2 separate regions of the Homo sapiens genome follow, and region 1 is linked to region 2. Evidence: promoter capture Hi-C in human tissues and cell types (Jung and others, 2019). All regions are on one chromosome and are shown on one strand. Each heading gives the region's core, a stretch centred on a gene start or on the middle of the fragment in contact. The rest is flanking DNA. Distances are from core to core; before and after follow the strand shown.

Region 1 (5,077 bases), core at 912-3,411, 46 kb before region 2:
ATAGAAAAAGCACAGTTTTATAAGGCAGGCAGAAACTTAATTGCCAAAACCTGCCTAAGACAATATAAGAAACGAAAATTACAGGCCAGTCTCACTACCAAACTTGGATGTAAAAATCATACATAAAATAGCAGCCAGGCACAGTGGCTCATGCCTGTAATCCCAGCACTTGAGGAGGCCAAGGTGGGTGGATCACTTGGGGTCAGGAGTTCAAGACCAGCTTAGCCAACATGGTGAAACCCCATCTCTACTAAAAATACAAAAATTATCCAGGCATGCTGGCAGGTGCCTGTAATGCAAGCTACCTGGGAGGCTAGGGCATGAGAATCGCTTGAACCCAGGAAGCAGAGGTTGCACTGAGCCGAAATCACGCCACTGCACTCCAGCCTGGGTGACAGAGCAAGACTCCGAAAAAACAAAAACTAAATAAGAGGACTTACTCTACCTGATATCAAACTTACTAGGGAGCTATGGTAATTAGGACAGTGTAGAATTACCCAAACATGAACAGAGACCAATGGAAGAGATTAGTCAGCCCAAAATAAGAACCCACTTCTGGTTGATGCCAAGGATGGTATTACAGAACCATGAGGAAAGGGTGGTCTTTTCCATAATGAGACTGAGACATTGAATACCTTTACGGGGAAAAAGGAAATTCGAAACCTACCTGACATCACATCAAATATTAATTCCAGATGGATCATATATCTCAATGTGAAAAGCTAAACAATAAAAGCTTTAACAGATAATCTAGAAGGGTATCTTTATGCCCCCAAGAGAGAAAAAGTGTTCTTAAAAATGACACAAAAAAGCACAAACATTACTGAAAAGATTGATAAATTGGACTACATTCAAATGTAGTTCATCAAAGACACCAGGAAGGGCTGGGCGCAGTGGCTCACGCCTGTAATCCCAGAACTTTGAGAGGCTAAGGCGGCAGATCCCTGAGATGGGGAGTTTGGCAGATCCCTGAGATGGGGAGTTTGAGACCAGCCTGACCAACATGGAGAAACCCCATCTCTATTAAAAATACAAAATTGGCTGGGTGTGGTGTCACATGCCTGTAATCCCAGCTACTCAGAGGCTGAAGCAGGAGAATCCCTTTAACCTGGGAGCCAGAGGTTGCGGTGAGCCGAGATCGCGCCATTGCACTCCAGCCTGGGCAACAAGAGCGAAACTCCAATTCAAAAAAAAAAAAAAAGGCACCAGGAAAAGAGTAAAACAGGGCCGGGCACGGAGGCCCACGCCTTTAATCCCAGCACTTTGGGAGGCCAAGGCGGGCGGATCACTTGTGTCCAGGAGTTCCAGACCAGCCTGGTCAACATGGTGAAACCCCGTCTCTACAAAAAATACAAAAATTAGCCCAGTCTGGTGGCATGCGCCTGTAGTCCCAGCTACTTGGGAGGCTAAAGTGAGAGGATCACTGGAGCTTGGGAGGTTGAGGTTGCAGGGAGCTGAGATCGTGCCACTGCACTCCAGCCTGGGCAAGAGAGTGAGACCTTGTCTCAAAAAAAAAAAAAAAGAAAGAAAGAAAATTGTAGGTGAAGGTAGAAGTATCTCCAGTGATCTTCAAGACTGGCACAATATTCTAAAAAGATACATTTGAACATAAAAATAAATGTTAACCAGACATCGTTTTTAGAATTATACAATACAAATTCTGGTGGGGAGTTGGCTGAGAGCCCCTCCTCCAGCTTCCTGGTGGTGGCGGTGTTCCACCTCCTGGGTCCCCACCCTCAGTCTCCCTTGCTCTGCCTTCTCCCCCACCCCACCTCCACATGCTAGAAACCAGGTCCTCTTCTCACCCTCTCTCCCAGGTGAGCCTGGTCACTCACAGAGCTGCAGAATCTGCTGTCTGTCTGCCAAGGACTCCCAACTCTGTGTCCACAGCAAGGATCTGTGCTAAACCACACTGGCCTTGCTGGGCCTCCAGCGCCATACACTCCCTCTTATGGCTTGTAACAGGTGTTTCCCCACCTGGAATGTTTGCTCTCCTCTCTCCTCCAAAGTCCTGCCCCTCCCTGAGGTGAGAAATCAGTTCCCCCACCTCCCCCACAGCCCCAGCACTCTGTGCTGAAATCATCATCAAAAACCCTGGTCTCCTCCAATCCCTCCTGCTACCCTCTCAGCCACCCAACATGCTATTCCCCCTGCAGGAACACTCTTCCCCATGATCTTTCTCGAGTCATTCTTCAGATCCATGTATCCCCTCCTCCAGGAAGCCCTCCCTGATACTCACCACTCTCCGGCCAGGGCAGGCACTTACTCTGGGCTCCCACAGGCCCCCTGGCCTCCCCCATCCCAGCCCCGACCACTCTGGGCAGTCAAGGTCTGGTGACTAACCTGCCTCCTCAACTGGACTGTGGGCCCCATGGGGGTAGGGCTGTCTCTGTCTCTACTGCCTCCCCAGCATCACCCAGTCAGGCCTGGATGCAGGCCTGGCATCAACTCTGCATAAAGGAGCGGAGGTCAGGAGTTCCCTGGGGCCTCAGTGCCTGGCACTGGTGGAGGGGCTTTCTGCATGCCACACTCTGGATCTTCTCCAGCTACTCCTTATTCTGGAAGCTGCAGCATGTTGAAATAAAAACTGGAACTAAATGGAGATGGAATGGACTTCACATTTGGACACATGGGTGTGTAAAGAGGAACGTGACTTCTCCAAAGTAACGCATAGAGGCCGGGCGCAGTGGCTCACGCATGTAATCCCAGCACTTTGGGAGGCCGAGGCAGGCAGATCATTTGAGGTCAGGAGTTCGAGACCAGCCTGGCCAACATGGTGAAACGCCATCTCCACTATAAATACACAAATTAGCTGGGCATAGTGGCACATGCCTGTAATCCCAGCTACTCCGGAGGCTGAGGCTGAAGAATCACTTGAACCCAGGAAGCAGAGGTTGCATTGAACCAAAATCGCACCACTGCACTCCAACCTGGGTGACAGAGCGAGACTCCGTCTCAAAAAAAAAAAAAAAAAAAAGTAACACACTAACCTCCTGACCCACCCAGAGTGGGTCTTACCTTCTAGAAAGATAGAAAAGAATAGAACCAGGCCAGGCTGACTCTGGCAGCTTTAGAACAATAGTAATGGCAGGAGTGGCCGGCGATGGACAGCTGGGGGTGGGACTGAAATAGACAGCAGCCAGGGAATAGTGGGTTGAAGGGAGAAAGGGAGTTATTTTTCTGTAGTCTTTGAAATTTTATTTTTCTCTTTCCTTTTTTGGAGACAAGGTCCTGCTCTTTTGCCCAGGCTGGAGGGCCATGGCGCGATCATGGCTCACTGCAGCCTCGAACTTGAGCGATCCTCCCTCCTCAGCCTCCCAAGTAGGTGGAACTTCAGGCGTCTGCCACCACACCCAGCTAATTTTTAAATTTTTTAAATTTTTTCTAGAGATGGGGGCCTTGCTATGTTGCCCAGGCTGGTCTCGAACTCCTGAGCTCCAGCGATCCTCCCACCTTGGCCTCCGAAAGGCCTGAGCCACCGTACCCGGCTGAAATTTGTAATCAACCCATAATCATCTATTACTTATGTAACTGAATTCCTATGAAAAGCATAATAAAGTGGAGATCATAAAGGTGCCGACTTCGGGCTGTTGTAAGATTTCGGTGCCACACCTAGCACAGAAAAAGCATGGAGAGCAGAAGGGCAGTGAACGCCAGCTGGCACACGTTGGCTACGTGCAAGTATTCGCCTAAACGCTGCGCAGGTATTCATCATATGATCCCCATAAACCTCTGAGGGCTGCACTCACATGTCATCCCCGATCTGCTGATGAGAAGTTCAGTTATAGGCCCAAGGTCACATATCCCGAGCCAGCGTAAAAGTGGAATCCAGGGAGGAGGAGGAGGAGGAGGAGCAGGAGGAGGAGGAGGAGGAGGAGGAGGAGGAGGAGAAGAAGAAGAAGAAGAAGAAGAAGAAGAAGAAGAAGAAGAAGAGAAAGGATTACTGTCCGTCTCTCTCTGGTTCTCTGCACACCCCTCACCTCCAGGGTTTTCAGTCTGTCTCTGGACCATTCTCCTTCTCTCCCCCTGCCCCATTCTCCAAAAGCCCAATGGGGTGACTTGCAGGCTGGGGGCACCCCCTGGTGCCTGTGTGCCGAGTGCAGAAAGTCAGGGCGGTACAGGGTGGAGGCAGGTGAGAGTGTGGGGGTGGTTTGGGTCCCACCGAGATATGGAAAGGTGGGTATCAGAGTAGAGTGCACTCATTCATTTCTTCATCATCACAGCCCAGAGGGTCCACTCTGTTCTGGGAGTGTTGGGGGGTAGGAGTGGAGCAAAACAATGCCCCCAGACGAAGAGAGCAGTGGGAGAAGGAGAGAAGGAGCATCCCAGAGCCATAGACACTTAGGGGCTGTGTGACTCTGGGCAGGTGACCTAGGGTCCTTGAACCTCAGTTTCCTCATCTGAAGATGGAGATGATATGTTAGTATCTCCCTCAGAGTATTAATGGATGCTAGGTACAGTTATAAGCTTCATTTACAGATGAGGAAAACTGAGGTTGGACAACTTGGCCAGTCACATAAAAGACGCAGTGGGGTGCTCCCTCAGCACCACTCTCCGGCTAAGAATTCTGGCTGCAGAGGAGGATGGACTCCAGGAGAAAGAACAGGCCGCCATTCCCATGGTTCAGCATGGACATCGGTGGAATGCTGTTAAATTGGTCTGTTTTGAGGCCGGGAGCGGCGGCTCACGCCTGTAATCCCAGCACTTTGGGAGGCCGAGGCAAATGGATCACCTGAGGTCAGGAGTTCGAGACAAGCTTGACCAACATGACGAAACCCCGTCTCTACTAAAAATACAAAAGTTAGCTGGGTGTGGTGGTGCGCACCTGTAATCCTAGCTACTCAGGAGGCTGAAGCAGGAGAATCACTTGAACCCAGGAGGCGGAGGTTGCAGTGAGCCAAGATCGCACCATTGCACTCCAGCCTGGGCGACAGAGCAAGACTCTGTCTCAAAAAACAAAAAAGGAAGGAAAAGAAAGAGGCAGTGGTGTTAGCAGGGCAATGAGTTGAATTCCAGTAACTCCGGTTCCCCTGGGTTTCCAACCCCCAGACCTCAAGCTTGGGCCTCCACACTCCTC
Region 2 (4,707 bases), core at 571-3,070:
TTTGGGAGGCCGAGGCGGGCAGATCACGAGTTCAGGAGTTCCAGACCAGCCTGGCCAACATGGTGAAACCCCGTCTCTACCAAAAATACAAAAATTAACCTGGCATGGTGGTGCACACCTGTAATCCCAGCAACTCAGGAAGCTGAGGTGGGAGGATCACTTGAACCCAGGAGATGGAGGTTGCAGTGAGCCGAGATCGAGCCATTGCACTCCAGCCTGGGCAACAAAGCAAGACTGGGTCTCAAAAAAAAAAAAAAAAAAAAAGACACAGCCCAGGGAGACAACGGTGAAGGGCCCTAAGTGGCCAGTGACAAGGAGCTGGGAGCTTGCCCTGAGGGCAGCAGGAGGCCATGGGCAAGCAGAGAAGGGACAGGGTAGGATTTGACTTTCAGAAACAGTCCTCTGGTTGCTAAATGGGAGAAAGGAGTGACAGTAGAGGCAGGAGAAGGCAGGATCAGACGGGGGTGCTGGGAAGGGGCAGGTAGAAGAGACATCAGGAGGCCAAACAGATAGGACTTTATGATGCACCGTAGGTATACCAGTACCCAAACACAGGTGGCCAAGAGCAGAGGGATAGACGCCCAGCCTCCTCCTCACAGACATCCAGGCATGCAGAGCCCTCCACGTGCCAAACACACAGGGCCGAGGAATGGAAGTGCAGCAGAGCCGATACGCAGGCAGCAGATCTGCAATAACCAGGACACACAGTCCCACCAGAAGGAGAGAGCAGTGGAATGATCAGGGCTCACTGCAGCCTCGATCTCTTGGACTCAAGCGTTCCTCTCACTCCAGCCTCCCTAGTAGCTGGGACCACAGGCACACGCCATGATACCTGGTTAAGTTTTAATTTTTAAACTTCTTGTAGAGATGGGGGTCTCAGTGCATTGACCAGTCTGGTCTCGAACTCCTGGGCTCAAGCGATCCTCCCACCTTGGCCTCCCAAAGTGCTGGGATTACAGGAGTGAGTTACTGTGCCCGGCCAACAACTATTCTTATTCCCATTTTACAGATGGACAAACTGAGGCTCAGGAGGCCAGTCACTTGCCTGTAGCCCACAGTTAGTGGTAGCACTGGGATTCCAACTTGGGTCCCCTTCATGTCGCCTGTATTTGGTGTCCCATTTAGGCGTCCATGCAGGTTTTGGCGTGTCTGAAGATCTGTGTCTCCCCAAGTAAGTGTCCCCCATGGATGCCCACCCAGCCGTGTCCTCCTGTCTCTGAGGTTTCTCCAGGAATCGAGCTCCTGGCCTGGCTTGTCTGAGTGTGTCTGTGGGCCAGTAGCATGCCCCTGCCCGTCTGGGTCCCTCTGCGTGTCTCTGCTTGTCCTAGCCTGTGTGTGTCAGTGACGTCTAAGAGTGTGTGTGCGTGCGTGCGTGCGTGCGTGTGTGTGTGTGTGTGTGTGTCCTTGTCCGAGGAGCCGAGAGAGTGAGGGGGAATGAAGGGCCAAGGAGGCCTGGCTGGGGCTGGGCTGGGGGTGGAGGCGGGGAGAGGGGCGTCACGGCCTGAGCTGAGAGGGGAGTGGAGTTCTGGAGGAATGTTTACCAGACACAGAGCCCAGAGGGACAGCGCCCAGAGCCCGGATAGAGAGACACGGCCTCACTGGCTCAGGACAGGGGGCACAGCCACCAGGGTCCCCTTCCCCCTCCTCAGCTCCCTCCCTGGCCCCTTTAAGAAAGAGCTGATCCTCTCCTCTCTTGAGTTAACCCCTGATTGTCCAGGTGGCCCCTGGGCTCTGGCCCTGGTGGGCGGAGGCAAAGGGGGAGCCAGGGGCGGAGAAAGGGTTGCCCAAGTCTGGGAGTGAGGGAAGGAGGCAGGGGTGCTGAGAAGGCGGCTGCTGGGCAGAGCCGGTGGCAAGGGCCTCCCCTGCCGCTGTGCCAGGCAGGCAGTGCCAAATCCGGGGAGCCTGGAGCTGGGGGGAGGGCCGGGGACAGCCCGGCCCTGCCCCCTCCCCCGCTGGGAGCCCAACAACTTCTGAGGAAAGTTTGGCACCCATGGCGTGGCGGTGCCCCAGGATGGGCAGGGTCCCGCTGGCCTGGTGCTTGGCGCTGTGCGGCTGGGCGTGCATGGCCCCCAGGGGTGAGTGATGGGGGCTCCTTGGGGCAGGGATCCCCTCGGAGGGGCTGGGGCAGGGGTAGGAGGTGGGGGATGATGGCAGGTGTGGGGGGCCTGGGCTGGCTTAGGGAGTTTCCTTGGGACCACAGAAAAGGGACTTCAAGGGAGGGAGACACAGACTCAGAGACACCAAGTGCGGCAGAGGGAGAGAAAGACTGAGAGAGGAACTGAAGGGCAGGGGGGACAGAAGAGAGGACCCGGAGAGACAGACAGACAAGGAGAAGCTGAGGGCAGGGGTGGGGGCTGGACCTGAGAAGGGGGCCATGGGGAGAGGGGCTGAGCTGAGGGTCGCCAGGAAGGAAGAAATCTTTCCGAAGGGGCACCGAGTCAGGCAGTGGGATGAGGAGGGCTCTGGAGCCCTGGGGGAAAACGCTTCTCCCTGCCAACACCACCCCCCTGACCCGCCACTTGTCCCTACCCCACCAGTCCACTCCATCTCTGGGGAGGAGGCTCTCACTTTGTCTCTCTGTCTCTGCCTCCAGCTCTGCTATCTCTGTGGGTCTCTGTTTCTCTCTCTTTCACAGTCTCTGCCTTTATCTCTCCCTGCTCTCTGAGTCTCTCTCTCTCTTCTCAGCCTCCCTCTGTGACTGTATCCCCCCTCCGCCCCCACCTTTTCTTCTCTCTTGAGGGCTGTTTCTTCATTTTTTCTGTCTTGCCTTGTATCTGTGCTCCTCTCTGTCTCATCTCCCCTGCCTTTCTCTGGCTTCTCCCTCCGCCACCACCCTTATCTCCCCCCACCACCACCCTTATCTCTCTCCCCCAACCCCTGATTCTTCCCCTCCATCCACCAGCACCAGCGCGACCTGTTAAGTCTCTAGAGACCTAAGAGAGGACGGAGGGGGCAGGGGCTGGCCCTGCCAGGCAGTGCAGGGCGTGGGAGGCTGCCAGATCCCGAGCCTCCTTCCCGACGGGATGGACGCTAGATCCCAGTCCCTTGGGAGGGCTCCCGTCCTCCTCTCAGAGCCTCCGCCCTCCACCCCACTCTGAGGTCACTCTGCAACTATGTCGGCCTAAGGGCCTGGCGGGGTCCTGGCCGCCGGTGGGCAGGCAAGGACAGGGTGGAACTGAGGGCCGGAAGGAGCTGGGGGGTTCCTAAGCTAACTCTTCCCATCTCCCCTCCAGGCACGCAGGCTGAAGAAAGTCCCTTCGTGGGCAACCCAGGGAATATCACAGGTGCCCGGGGACTCACGGGCACCCTTCGGTGTCAGCTCCAGGTTCAGGGAGAGCCCCCCGAGGTACATTGGCTTCGGGATGGACAGATCCTGGAGCTCGCGGACAGCACCCAGACCCAGGTGCCCCTGGGTGAGGATGAACAGGATGACTGGATAGTGGTCAGCCAGCTCAGGTGTGTGGCCACATCCCCGAATCCCACTCCCACCTCCGTCACACAGAGGGCAGAAAGCCCACCTGGGTGGGAACCCCAGTTTGACCACTTGTCAGCCGTGCGGCTTTGAGCATGTGATGGAACCTCTAGGTTTCGTTTTCCTCTTCTGCAAAATGAGTTAATAATAGGACATACTTCGTGGTTGTCATGAGCTTCCAGACTGGACACCCTCTTTCCGTTCTGACAGACCCCCTCCCAGTGTCCAGCTCTGACCCTGAACCTCTCTGTCTCTCCTCTTGCCCTGTCAGAATCACCTCCCTGCAGCTTTCCGACACGGGACAGTACCAGTGTTTGGTGTTTCTGGGACATCAGACCTTCGTGTCCCAGCCTGGCTATGTTGGGCTGGAGGGTGAGCTCTGGGGTCAGGGGTCCTGAGGGGTCAGAGGACATGTGGCGCTCATAGGTTGTGGGAAGTCAGGAATCCTGAGGGGTCAAGGTCAAAGGGTGCTGGAGGATTCAGGATGAACCTAGCGTCATACAGCCTAAGAATGTCAGAGTTTTGGGTGGTCAAGAAGCTGGGAGTCCATATAAGTTATGGTGCCAAGGCTGGGGGATTATATGTTCTGGGTGAAAAGACTTCTTGGGGGTAGTTGGATGTCCTAGGCATCAGACACCATCAGGTCACAGGAGGCCATTCTGGTCTTCAGATAAGGCGTCAGAGGCACGCAACGTACCCCTGTCCCCACGACCCCAGCGGTCTCTTTTTTCTCATCCATAGAATGAGATGAGGATGAGCTGTCAGACATTCTGGAAGAGAGACATGAGGAGCTCAGCTATCGTGGGGGGTCTGACATGGGAGGAATCAGATATTGGGGTCACGTGTGTGTTGGGTATGGCTCAGGTGCCCTCGGGGATCAGATAAGGCAAGTCAATGACCCTGCAGGGTGGGTTTGCTGCCCAAAGCCTACAGCATCCTAGTGGTGAGTCAGGCATCTTGGGGCCTCAGAGGGACCCCAGCCTCTACCACTGCCCACCCCGCTAGGCTTGCCTTACTTCCTGGAGGAGCCCGAAGACAGGACTGTGGCCGCCAACACCCCCTTCAACCTGAGCTGCCAAGCTCAGGGACCCCCAGAGCCCGTGGACCTACTCTGGCTCCAGGATGCTGTCCCCCTGGCCACGGCTCCAGGTCACGGCCCCCAGCGCAGCCTGCATGTTCCAGGTGAGTCCGGGGATGTGGGTCAGCTCCGAATAGGGGGCCGGGCAGGGCTGAAG

What was found. The method cuts DNA at HindIII sites, captures the fragments that hold promoters and counts their contacts. A contact is called where the count stands out against the background at its distance.
Region 1: a fragment that was not itself captured here is called in contact with the fragment with the promoter of AXL in region 2 in 2 of the 25 tissues and cell types used here (heart right ventricle and thymus).

What each region holds. Positions count from the first base shown.
Region 1 is chr19:41,170,775-41,175,851 of GRCh38, forward strand. All of the region lies in intron 2 of LOC124904790, which reads right to left. Among named protein-coding and RNA genes, the nearest start is that of CYP2S1, 20 kb to the right of the region's middle. RefSeq lists an enhancer at 4,808-5,077. The HindIII fragment of the contact is 4,900 bases long and covers 1-4,611 here.
Region 2 is chr19:41,217,403-41,222,109 of GRCh38, forward strand. AXL (AXL receptor tyrosine kinase) reads left to right here and starts at 1,821. Exons shown (of 20, transcript NM_021913.5): 1 at 1,821-2,075; 2 at 3,234-3,456; 3 at 3,744-3,844; 4 at 4,478-4,654. The coding sequence starts at 1,991. RefSeq lists enhancers at 962-1,786, 4,037-4,707 and a silencer at 1,395-1,534. The HindIII fragment of the contact is 32,353 bases long and covers 1-4,707 here.